Regions from separate parts of the Homo sapiens genome. Here region 1 is linked to region 2. Evidence: promoter capture Hi-C in human tissues and cell types (Jung and others, 2019). All regions are on one chromosome and are shown on one strand. The core of a region is centred on a gene start or on the middle of the fragment in contact, and the rest is flanking DNA. Distances in the headings are between cores, read along the strand shown. Region 1 overlaps ZDHHC11 (zDHHC palmitoyltransferase 11). Region 2 holds the start of TPPP (tubulin polymerization promoting protein).

Evidence for each region. Contacts are between HindIII fragments. The study calls those that stand out against the background at their distance.
Region 1: a fragment that was not itself captured here is called in contact with the fragment with the promoter of TPPP in region 2 in 14 of the 25 tissues and cell types used here (IMR-90 fibroblasts, aorta, bladder and 11 more).

Annotation. Positions count from the first base shown.
Region 1 is chr5:795,845-802,331 of GRCh38, reverse strand. It overlaps ZDHHC11 (zDHHC palmitoyltransferase 11), which reads left to right. Exons shown (of 13, transcript NM_024786.3): 12 at 1,168-1,232; 13 at 5,752-6,487. The coding sequence ends at 1,225. Among named protein-coding and RNA genes, the nearest start is that of ZDHHC11B, 14 kb to the right of the region's middle. The HindIII fragment of the contact is 6,222 bases long and covers 788-6,487 here.
Region 2 is chr5:690,635-696,674 of GRCh38, reverse strand. TPPP (tubulin polymerization promoting protein) reads left to right here and starts at 3,323. Exons shown (of 4, transcript NM_007030.3): 1 at 3,323-3,397. LOC101929898 (a long non-coding RNA gene) reads right to left here and starts at 3,135. Exons shown (of 2, transcript XR_925675.4): 1 at 2,953-3,135; 2 at 1-2,594. RefSeq lists enhancers at 1,523-2,401, 3,315-3,897 and a silencer at 3,071-3,320. The HindIII fragment of the contact is 24,608 bases long and covers 1-6,040 here.

The DNA.
Region 1 (6,487 bases), core at 2,649-5,148, 110 kb before region 2:
TCTCCTTTGCTTACTGAGTCCTGTCACTTCCTTCTGTGCATTTTTTCCTAGCACTTCTCTGTGTCTACCAAGACTACTGCTCCCCCTGCAATAATCTGGTGGCAGACACTCCCATTGTTGCCTATGGTTTGGGAAGTCTTGCAGCAGCAGTCACTGCCTGGCCGCTCAGCCTACAAGTCCCCCAGCTAATCACCCCATCAGGAGCCCTGCCCAGCTGAGCATCCACTGCTCCTCTGTGGCAATTCCTGGGGGTCTCTTCCAGGTTCTGCAGCACACTCCTGACCATGGCCTTCTGCATCAGCTCCCATTTGCATCCTTTCCTTCTAGGAGTCATCATTTCTGATCCAAGAAAGGTTTCCCTCTTGCTTTTCTTTGATGTAATGTCCTTACTCATTTATGGATACATTTATATCCTGATTATAATTTTTAAGGATTGGATCAGAGAAGGGAGACTATAGCATGTGATGGATACGCAGTTTTGATTTAGAAGTCTCCTAGTGACTATTTTGCTTGTGGGTCTTTCAAAATCTTTCAAAGCAAAATTTTGCGTGTTTCTGGTGTCTAATTCCCGACACATTCAGCGTTGCAAGTTAAGCCCGATCTCCAACCCTCTGCAAAGTCTGGGCAGCAACACGGTCACTTCTACTGCCAGCTGGCCAGCACACATAAACAATCAAGTCATTAGCTGGCTGGGGTAGTGTAACATCAGGGCAGAGAACAAAACACCTGTACTCAAGATGTGGGTATAAAAACACTTAAGGCTCCCTGATAGCCAGAACTCATCACAATCAAGCAAGAGTTGTGAGAAGAAGGTACCAGGCATGAGCTGACCTCCTGTGGGCCCCACATTTCCCCACTTTTCATGCTGGAAATCCAAACAAGCCTCCTTGGCTACCACAAGACCCTCTTATTTATCAGGGAAAGCACACTTTGTCTCTATATCAGCACACATGCAGAAGAAAAAAGCAACATTCTTTCAGCAGTGCAGTCATGTTACTGTTTTCACAAAAATGAAGGCTCTGAAACTCAGAGAGGTGAAGTGATTGCCCACGTCACAAGCTAATCTCTAAAATGTACTCTTGTTTACACATTTTGTGCACTTTGGCATTATAACAAGTATTACATCATACGTTCTCTGTTGTTTCTCTTTCTGAATATTGCAAACAGGCTGCAACAAGAAACAACAGAGCCCATGAAAACTGACAGTGCTGAAAGTGAAGACTGAGATTCAGGTAAGATACGTGGCAGTGCGGGTCATGTTGAAATCTACCCAAGTTTGGTTCTCTAGAGAGTGAAATATCTTCTTTAAAAAATCACCAGTGCAAACTCAAGGGCTGGGCTGCTTGTCGTTTGTCTCTTGATGTCAACAGTAACCCCAGAACAGGAACCGTGTGTCCATCTTTAGAAGTAGTGCATGGCAGCCGAGCTGTGAGAGTATCAATTCATCTTTATTTTCTAGGCAGTAAACAATGTATAGATTGAACACCTCTCATTTCCATACTTGCCTTTAAGTCTAAACTAAGAATTATTTTCACCCAATTGTACTGATCTAAGAACTTTAAATAATGAACACCTGCCATTTTAAGATGGTCTCTGATTAGATGCCTCTGACCGTACCTATCCCTGCTTTCTGCTTAAACATTTAGGACGATCCATAGAATGCAGTGAAATTTAACCGTGAAACAAATGATCATTTACTTCCAGAATCAGGGGGAAAGTTTACTCACTAGAAGGCTAAAGGAATTTGCTATCAGGCACACACATGAGTTGGCAAACCATCCAGACATGCTCTGCCAGCAGAATAGGTAGACTGAGCACTTGAAAACAGAGGGGCATGCTCTCCCTCCACTACTATATCCCCTCAGCTAAGAAACATGAGACATGATTGTACCTTAAAATGAGACTGCAACCCTTTCTCTAAGGTGTTACCTTGGCTTTCCAAGGCAAAGCAAGCTGCTTTACACCCTGAAGTCTACCGTTCAGTACCTGCCTTCTCACAATGCTTCAGAGAGGCACCTCCCAAAAGCTAGCTGGACAGGAAAAGGGTATAGGGCATACTGTATCCTGAAAGGCATGATCCATACAAGAAAAGCCCTATGATCGGGCAAAACATCAAAAGCCCTGGTATCCTCAGAGTTCCTGTGCTCCAGGCAGCTTCCCACAGCCGTCTGGGTGCCATAGAGCCCTGAGGAAGGTCAAGGTCTCCCAGCAGCACAGCCCTGACCAGCACCCTAGAGGACAAGAGGGTAGGACTCATGGTTCTGTGTATATCCTGTGAAAATTTTGCAGAACTGGGAATAGACATCACCTTGAAAGCCCAGAGAGACAGCAAACCTGTGAAAATTGTTCTCTAGAAAAAAAAGTGTTTGAGATGCATAGCACAGGGTCTTCATGAGGCAGGAGTCAAAATCATAATTGGAGACAAGTTGAGATGAGAAGACAAATCCACTGAGATTGAAGGGGAGATGAAAGAGATGTGGAAAGATTGCAAGAAACTGACCATGAAGTTGCAAAATTAAAATCTTTCAAGGAAAGAAGAAGTAAATTGGTGCAGTAAAAAATTGTCTCAGTGGTATGGAGGACAAACTTAAGAAGCTACAACTTGAGCTCATGTAGAATGTCTATAGAACAGCGCCTGAGTCTACGTGCTCCTCCCACCATTTCCTTTGTGTGGAACAGTGAAATGGCTGAGGAGTAGCAGAGCCTGAGAAGTGGAGCTGGACGCTTGGCCGAAGCATCAACTTGCAAATAATCTGCAAAAACTGACAGCTTCTGTGGACATCCTTCCATGTGAGCATCAAATGGAGCTGTGGACTCCCTTCCGTGAGCAACAGTGACTAACAGTGATGGACACAAGGCGTGTCTTAGTCTGTCAGTGTTACTACAAAGAAACACTTGAGCCTGGGTAATTTATAAAGAAAAATCGTGTATTTGGCTTATGATTCTGATGGCTGAAAAGTTGAAGATTGAGCTCTGCATGTGGTGAGGGTCTCAGCCTTCTTCCACTAACAGCAGAAGGTGAAGGGAGCTGACATGTGCAGAGATCACATGGAGAGAGAGGAGGCGAAGGGCTGGGGGAGGCTCCAGGCCCTTTTCGACAACAAGGTCTCATGGGTTCGTTAGAGCAAGAAGTACTTGAGCATGAACTCACTCCCTTCAGAGGGAGGGCATTAATCTGTTCATAGGGGGTCCAGCCCCATGACACAAACACGTCCTATGAGGCCCCATCTCCAACAATGGAGATCAAATTTCAACATAAGGTTTGGAAGGGTCAGATGTCCAAACCACAGCAAAGAGCAAGCTCCCAGGGCAGAGCTTGATTAGTGACTGAAACAAGATGGCTCAGTGTGTTTTATAGAAGCCCAAACTCAGCCAACCACAGCTTGTCTGCTGAAGTTGCAGATAATTTCAGGTCACATTCTTTATCATTTGCATGCTCTTTATCATTTGCATTATTTTTGAATGAGTCTAAATCATTTCAAAAGCATCTGGTCTTCCTAGGGTGCTTTCGAAATGAATTAGCCTCATTCAAAAAAAAAAATATTCACCACTAAGGTTTTAAACAGCAAATGTTCGCTGTGATAACGTCTTAGAGTTGTGAATTACTGTAGACCACACAAAACACTTCTTCAGTATTACACCTTACCCCTCCAAAGTGCCTGTGGTGTAGGAGTCAGTCACTCCTATCTCTAGAAAAGGATGGTGGCTAGGAGAGTTGTCTGATTTTTACATAATCCCAGAAAGTACTTAAGGTAGATTTTAAAGATCGTGGAATACAGACCGATGGCATAAAGGGAAAAGGGAGGGGAAAGAAAGAAGGAGTGAAATGAAGCCAGAGGTTCTAGTCATGTGGCAAGTCACTTACAAGGATCGGACAATGCTCCGAAACTGAGCAAGTTAAGGGTGTGTGTGTGCACGCGTGCGCGTGTCCGTGTCCATGTGAGTGCGAGTGTAAATATTCTTAAAGGCATTAATGAACTGAGGAGACATAAGGAATTCTCAGGCCATGGTTGAAGGCACAGAGGAACCCAAAGAGAAATCTAGTGGGGAGTGCAGCTGGCCTTTGCCCTGAGGGCATTTGTGAAACCTGGTCAACTTCATTTTCACCTTTTCAAGAGATACAAATGGAAGATCAAGCTGAGAGCACAGCCAAAATGGCAAGCCAATCAGTAATCTCTTAAAGTAAGGGCCCCCAGAGGGCGGTACCCTCATTGCAGTGGCAAACTAGAGGCAACTCACTTCTCTACCCGCAAAGGAATCAGGGGGGATCAGTCATTTCAAGCCCTAGAGCTGAAAGAAAAAGAGAAAAATCACTGCCGAGTATTTGGAGCAACAGGTTCTCCCTAAATTTGTGTGAGGTGGGTGACCAAAAGTCCCCAAGCTGAGAATTTAATAGAGAGTGATTCTGAACTGGTCATTCCCAGGAGCCAAGCATAATTCCTTCTGAGTAACAAACCTTCATCCTAAGCCTCAAAGATTTCTCAAAAATAAAACTACAAAGCAAAGAAGCAATTCTCAATGAAAAACAACCCACCACATGTGAAAATAAAGCACTGAGTGAGAAGCAGCAGAAAACGTAGTAGAAACAGACACATAAATATTTCAGATGTTGAATTTGGCAGACCAAAACATGAAGAAAACACAAAGTCAGAAATATCTGAAGAGAACAGAAAACTATTTTTTAAATTACAAAGCAGATATGGAAAAACACCAAATAAAACTTATGAGAAATATCACTGATTTTTTTTAAAGTGGATGGATTTAACAACAAATTAGACAGTTGAAAAGTGAATTAGGGAACTAGAATCTAGAGCTGAAGAAATTACTGAAATAGATACAAAGTGACAGAAACGCAAAATGTGAAAAAAATGAATGAGAATACAGTTTGAAGGCTATGTTATGTTTAGAGTCCTAGAAAGAGAAAAGAGAGAAAATTGGGAAGATGTCATATTTAAGGAGATTTGGCTGAGAATTTGCCAACATTGTTAGAAGACACCAACTCACAGATTCATAAAGCCCAGTGAATCCAAGAAGGGGAAATAAAATTCTAGACACAACATAATTCAATTGATAAATGCCGTAAACAAAGAATATATATATATATACACACACACACATATGTATTTAGACAGAGTCTCGCTGTGTCACCCAGGCTGGAGTGCAGTGGCCCAATCTTGGCTCACTGCAAACTCCGCCTCCCGGGTTCACAACATTCTCCTGCCTCAGCTTCCTGAGTAGCTGGGCCTACAGTTGCCCACCACCACACCCAGCTAATTTTTTGTATTTTTAGTAGAGACGGGGGTTCACTGTATTAGCCAGGAAGGTCTCGATCTCCTGACCTCATGATCCACCCGCCTCGGACTCCCAAAGTGCTGGGATTACAGGTGTGAGCCACCACACCTGGCCAAAGAAAATATTTTTTAAAATATCTAGTGATAAAAGATGGGTTATCTTTCAAAAGGATGTATTTCCGAAGAAGAACAATAGAAAATGGCCTCTGTCGGTGATGCACTCATCTCTAAGCTTTCTGGAAGGATGGGGAGGGCAGGAGCCTGGCTCGGGAGGACTCTCACTAGACCCAGCTGGGAGTGGGGCTCTGTGTCTAAGCCAAGGTGATGATCCACCCAGAAACCAGCCCTGCCTCTCCAGGCAACAGGTTGGGGTAAAAGCCACCGGTGGGTTTCCATCACAAGTAGAGCTGAGCTTCCTCCCTGGTGGCTGCTCAAAGAGTGACTTTGTTTTGTCCTGCAGGAGCTCAGGTGCCCCTGTGATCCAGGTCTTCTACCCTGAAACCCCACCCTCCATCAAGGTCCTGCCTGTAGAGTCTACCTTGCAAAGCCTCCTGCTCCTACCCATGCTACAGGCCAGGAACCAGAGCCCATCATCTCAGAGGCCCCTGGATGTCCTTCGAAGGAACCAGGACCCTCAGAGCCCAGCATCCATCTCTGTCATCATCTTCATCACACCCAAAGAAGAGCCAGCCTTGCAGGAGGGTTTACATCTCCAGGAAGATGGGCTGCCAGCAACTGCAGAGGATGCAGCCACCTGCTTAACTGTGCTGTCCAGCCAGCCAGCCAGCTGCAGGGCCTCTTGCTGCTTAAGAGCTGATGGGCCGGGCATGTTGGCTCACACCTGTGAGCACAGTACTGGGAAATGGGAGCACAGTACTAGGAAATGGGAGCACAGTACTGGGAAATGGGAGCACAGTACTGGGAAATGGGGGCTCACAGCACTGCAAAATGGGAGCACAGTATTGGGAAATGGGAGCACAGTACTGGGAAGTGGGAGCACAGTACTGAGAAGTGGGAGCACAGTACTGAGAAATGGGAGTACACTACTGAGAAATGGGAGCACAGTACTGGGAAATGGGCATACAGTACTGAGAAATGGGAGCACACAGTACTGGGAAATGGGAGCACAGTACTGGGAAATGGGAGCCCACAGTACTGGGAAAGGGGAGTTCACAGTACTCGGAAATGGGAGCATA
Region 2 (6,040 bases), core at 2,074-4,573:
ATGGGAGCTGCTTCAACACCCCCATGAGGCTTCCCAGGCCCCACACCCAGGCAGGCACGTCGTTACTTCACTGACCACCCCCTCTGACCTCATGCACCTAGGCTGTAGCTTGTCCCCAGCCCAGGGCCCACACAGGAGCTGGTTAGGGTTCTCAAGGGGCCCTGACTGCTCACCTGCTGTGGGACACACCCCTACGGGGCCCAAAGAAGCTGCTCAGCCTATAGGCCGTCAAAGGACATTCAGCTGCCAGGGGTGGGTGGACACCTGACAGGTCCAGCTGCAGGACACCTCAGTGCTGGGACCCGGCATCCTCACACTTGGCCTCGGAGGCCTTTTCATGTCTGCTGCTGTCCGCGTGAGTCCATTGCTCCCCCCGCTCCCCGTGCCTCTGTCTTCAGCATGGGGCCTCCCAATGGACCTGGGCTCCTGTCCTGGTCTCCCACTGCAGACCCAGATGGCCCAGCATCTCCCACCATCCCTTCCACCCAGGGCTTCCAGTGCTACCCACCATGCTGTGTCTGCTCTTCCCAACCTCCACTGTCAGCCTGAACCTCTACCCACAAAACCCAACCCCAAACCCAGGCAGGGGTGGGCGCGGGTGCCAGGCAGCAGGGGCTTGTCCCGGAGAGCTGTCCTCCTCCTATGTGACAGCTGCCTGGCCTGGTGCTCCCAACTGCGGACGCAGAACCTGTGCAGGAAGCCGTGGAAACAGCTACAAGCAGGCAGGTGTCCCGGGGAACGCTCCTGGTCACTGACACGGTAACACAGGTGGAGCTGGGAAAAGCATTGGTGCTGGGGTGGTAGTGACCCCCACCCAAGAAAGTCACATTGACCCGGAACCTCAGAGTAAGACCTTACGTTAAAATAGGATCTTTGTAGATGTAATTCGATTAAAGATCTTGAGATTATCCCAGCTTCTCCTGGCGGCCCTTAAATCCAGTGACAGGTGTCCCGATAAGCAAAGGAAGAGACAGACACACTAACTCGGGGGAGGAGGCCCCGTGAGGACAGGGGCAGAGGTGGAGCCATGCGGCCACCACCCAGGACCGCCTGGAGCCACAGAAGCTGGAAGAGGTGGGAACCTCCGGAGCGCACAGGCCTTGATCTCGGACTTCTGGCCTCCTAAGCCGTAAGAGGAAAGCCCTGTTGTTCAACCCATTTGTAGTGATTTTCTAAGGATCCCCAGGAAACATCTTATAACGGGACACTTGGCGTGGATCACATCATTGGCTGTGAGTCGGTTTTCAGTAATTGCAGGGTTAATGGAGGCTGTCCAGGTCTGGCAGTGGAGCAAGAGCTGGGGGCCAGGAAGGGCCACCGGACGGGCAGCCATGGCCAGGTGAAGAGCCTGGAGTCCCGAATCAGGATCCACCTCTCCCTGCTGAGCAAGATCCTGTGCCCCTGTTTCTGGTGATTTTGTAAGTGCTGACTGAACCGACTGTCGCTGGGAAATAACACACCCGTGACCCCAAGCCAAAGTTTCACCCACAGACAAGGAAACAGACTCCATGAACACGCCGACTCCCGACGGTAGAACCGGGGTGCCCACCCCAGCCCCGGTCACTGTGTGTCCTGCGCAGGGGCCAGGGCAGCCCAAGGCTCAGCTCTGTCCTCCTGCCCAGACCTCGCTCAGCCCCCTGGACGCCGCCCCGCGCCCGCTGCCTCTCCTCTCCTCTCCTCCCAAAGGCTCCAGGACCATGTCTGCCTCTGAAGCCTGACGTTACCTCCCACTGCGATTTTATTGTAAACTCACTGCATTTATGTCAAGAGAGTTTGTACAGGTTTTGGAAAATGCACTGAAGAGTCCCCTTGTGCCTATTAGGACGGTAAGAACACACCAAGGAGAGATTATTTCATTATTTCTTTGATGCTGTTAGTAGGATCTACCCGAGGGGGAGGCACTCCGGGCTCCGCGGGACGAGAAGGCAGCCGAGCCCGCACCCGAGCAGGAGGGAAGCAGGAGCCGCAGCGTGGCCGCCGCACAGCTTCGGGGGTCCCCCGACTTCCCAGCTGCGAGTGTGGAATTTCTCAGGAGAACTAGACAGAAGCCCATCTCTGGGCAGCACTGAGTGGAAGGAGAAACCACAGGAGAGGAGAGGAAGTGTGGGGCGCGGGACCACCGTGGGGTGGGTGGGGGCCAAGCCGCCGGGCTGTGAGGCCTCAGCACCCCCTGCCCAGCACCCAGCACCCCAACTTCCCCTTCTGCCTTTGCGGATTCCAGGGCCTGCTGGACACCTGGTGCAGGGACAGAGCCGGGGCTGGGGGAGGAGCTCAGCTGCACTAGAGTCCAGCTGGAAGAGTCCAGCTGAAAGTCACCAGAGGCACCCCTTCCTCCTGGGGGGCTGCGCCTCGGCCTCCTCCAGGGCAGGTGCCCCTATGCCCCTCAAGTCCCAGCACCCAGCACCACAGAACCGCCCTGTCATCTCGGCCCCGGAACCTTGTGGGGAGCCAACTCCTGCGGAGGGCCGGGCAGCCCCGGGCGGAATGAGCCCCCTCCGCAAAGCCTGTCTGGGGAGCGGGGGAGGGGCGGCAGGTGCCCGGAGAAAGGCGAGATTGGAAGAGCGGCCGGGATGGTGGCGCTGCATACGGGCGACCTGCAGGGAGAACGGAAGCTGAGGCCGGGGTCAGGGGTGCGCGCTCCGCTCCTCCACTCCTGCGTGAAGGGCGGCCCACTCCCGAGCAGCTGCGCTGGGCGCCCGGCACGGACCCGTCTCCCTGCTCAGGTCGATCCCCGGCCGCGCTGCCCCCACCTGGAAGCCCAGTCCCCTGGGTGCGCCCCGCCTTGGGGTCCGAGCACCCTCACAGCCCGGCCCTGCCGCTTCCCTGCACCGTCTGCGGCTCCTTAAAGAACTGGGCGCGGTCGGGGCTCGCCCCGCACCGTCCTCGAGGCCCCGCCGCCAACCCACCCCACCCCAGGAGGCCGCGGCCGCGCTCATCCATCCCCCGCCGCACCGTCAACGCGCGTCCTGCGGGGCGGAGAGATCGGGGTCCGGTCGTCCCCGGGGGGCCCCAGAGCCAGGTGAGGGGCCCCGCCGCCCCCTGCCCAGCGGTTCCCACGACCCGCGGGTCGGCCGCGCCCTGCGCTGAGCGGATACCCGGCGGTCCGCGGGGCCTGAGCAGAGTCGGCCTTGTAAGGCAGAGGTCTCGGTGCGCCCGCGCGTCCCCGGGCCGGGTGGGGCGGCGGGGGCGGGGCTGCCAATGAGCGCGCGGGGCGGGACGCTGGGCGGGCGCCGGACGCTGGGGGCCGGGGGCGGGCCCGGGACCGGGCTGGGCGGGGCTGGGCGGTGCTGGGCGGGACGGGCGGGCGCGGGGCGGCGGCTGGAGAGCTCCGCTGAGCACCGGGTCGCGCGCGGCCGAGTCGCGGAGGCGCCTCCGCTGCAGTCGCTGCGTCTCCAAGGTAAGCGGGCGCGGGGCTCGGTCCCGCGGGCGCGGCGCGGGGGGCACCCGGGGGCGGAGACTGGGCCCGTCAGCCCCAGCAGCCACCTGCGCCGCAGCCCCTGCCCCCCGCGCTCCCCCGAGCCCCCTTCCCGGACCGCCCCGCGCGTCCCTGAGCCCCCGGATTGGGATGCCCGGAGTTCGGCGCTGCGGGCTCGGTGCGAGGACGCGACGGGGAGGCTTTGCAAAGGCCGCGAGCGGGGGTCACCGTCGGCCGCGCCAGGGACAGGTCTGTCACCGTCTCCGGGCCCTGTGCCTGGCGCTTTGGCCTTTCTTCGCGGCCACGGACGCCCCTGCAGCCCTTCCCTCCAGACCCTCCCCAGCTCGGGACTCGAACCGTTTCCCTATTCCCAGGCCTAGGGGGCCGCCGGTGTGAGGCGTGGGAAATTAGGGCGTGGAGGGCTGGAATGAAGTCACTGCCCGCAGCAGGTTTTGAGAGATCCCTGGCCACAGAAACGGCCCATCTCAGGGTCCTGACACCACCGCGTCCTGGCAGGTGGGGCTGTCAGACCGCCCCCCGCAGAGCCTCCAGCTGCCCCGGGTCTTGGCTACTGTCCGCGGGCCTGTGGCGATGGAGAGGCGCTGCCGGGACACCTTCCCGCACCCCTGGGAGCAGCGCCCGAAGATCTGAGGAGCCCTTTATTCTGCGGTTTCGGTTACGTAAACGGAGCCGAGGGAGGTGAGAAGCCTGTCCCTCCCGGGCAGTGGCGGGGCTGCTGTTTTGATAAGGGTTTTGGGGGGGCTGTTGTCTTGATGGGGGTTTGGGGGGCTGCTGTTTTGATAGGGGTTGGGAGGCTGCTATTTTGATACGGGGTTGGGGGCTGCTGTTTTGATAGGGGTTTGGGGGGCTGCTGTTTTGATAGGGGGTTGGAGGGCTGCTGTTTTGATAGGGTTGGGGGACTGCTGTTTTGATAGGGGGTTGGGAGCTGCAGTTTTGATAGGGGTTTGGGGGCTGCTGTTTTGATAGGGGGTTGGGAGGCTGCTGTTTTGATAGGTGGTTGGGAGGCTACTGTTTTGATAGGGGGTTGGGGGGCTGCTGTTTTGATAGGGGTTGGGGGCTGCTGTTTTGATAGGTGGTTGGGGGCTGCTGTTTTGATGGGGTCTGGGGGGCTGCTGTTTTGATGTGGGGTTGGGAGGCTGCTGTCTTGATGGGGGCTTAGGGGGGCTGCTGTTTTGATAGGGGGTTGGGGGCTGCTGTTTTGATAGGGGTTGGGAGGCTGCTGTTTTGATAGGGGTTGGGGGGCTGCTGTTTTGATGGGGTCTGGGGGCTGCTGTTTTGATGAGGGGTTGGGGGCTGCTGTTTTGATACGGGTTGGGGGGGCTGTTGTCTTGATGGGGGTTTGGGGGGCTGCTGTTTTGATGGGGGTTTAGGGGGCTGCTGTTTTGATGGGGGTTGAGGGCTGCTGTTTTGATGGGGGTTGAGGGCTGCTGTTTTGATGAGGGTTGGGGGCTGTTTTGATGGGTATTTGGGGGCTGCTGTTTTGATGGGGGTTGGGGGCTGCTGTTTTGATGGGGGTTGGGGGCTATTGTTTTGATGGGGTTTGGGGGGCTGCTGTTTTGATGGGTATTTGGGGGCTGCTGTTTTGATGGGGGTTGGGGGCTGCTGTTTTGATGGGGTTTGGGGGCTGCTGTTTTGATGGGGGTTGGGGGCTATTGTTTTGATGGGGGTTGGGGGGCTGCTGTTTTGATGGGGTGTTGCGTTCCCTCTCAGTGTCACCGCTGATCCACCTGGCATGTTTATTGGCTCTTCTGCTTGCAGGGCCCCTGGGGGACCGATAGAGGACTGGGCCCCTCCGCCCACCCCGGCCACCCCTCCCCGCCTGACTTCTCAGGGGGAGAGGTCTCCCCCCACGCCCAGCCAGCCCCTGCCCCTGGGAGGTGACCCAGCTCCCTGTGGCCTGGGACTAGGAGATGGGGCTGGACCAAGGCCGGGAAGGGGCAGGAAGTGGAGGGGAGTGAGGCAGCTGCAGCCTGATGCCGCCGCCTTGAACTGGGCTCTCGCGCCTGTCAGCCGCTCGGTGCCAGCGCCTCCCCACCACGTGATCCTCGGAGGGCCTGTGGGGGAGGGGCGGGCTCCCGGAGCGGCTGCAGAAGGCGAGCTCCAGGAGGGTGTGTGCGTTTTCCCGGGAGGGGTCTGCAGCTTTCATGGTTTCTAAACGGATCTCTGATTCAGAAAGGCGCCGGCATGAACTCGCTTTGCATCTTCACAAAACATGAAGTCATGGGGATTGGACCGCGTGTGCGTGGAGGAAGCTCCGCTGGTCACTGGCTGCGTTTTAATCTTACAGCTGCGGTTGGTCTATCTTCCCGAATTCCCTGAAGTTGCAATAAATGTTTTAGCGATTATACGAGGTTATAAATGCTCGTTGTGGAAATGAGCATAGAATGCTCACAGAAATGGTCAACAGGGGCTTCCTTTTGACCCCCTACCCTAATTTGCAAGCCTCACACTGGCAGTGGCTGCCCTAGGCCTGGGAATCGGTAAACAGGGTTCGTGCACCGGGCTGGGCAGGGCCCGGAGGGAGGGGCCGCAGGGGGCTTCCGTGGGCACAAAGGCCAAAGCGCCACACGCAGGGCTCAGGAGAACTTCCTGAAGAAAATTAGG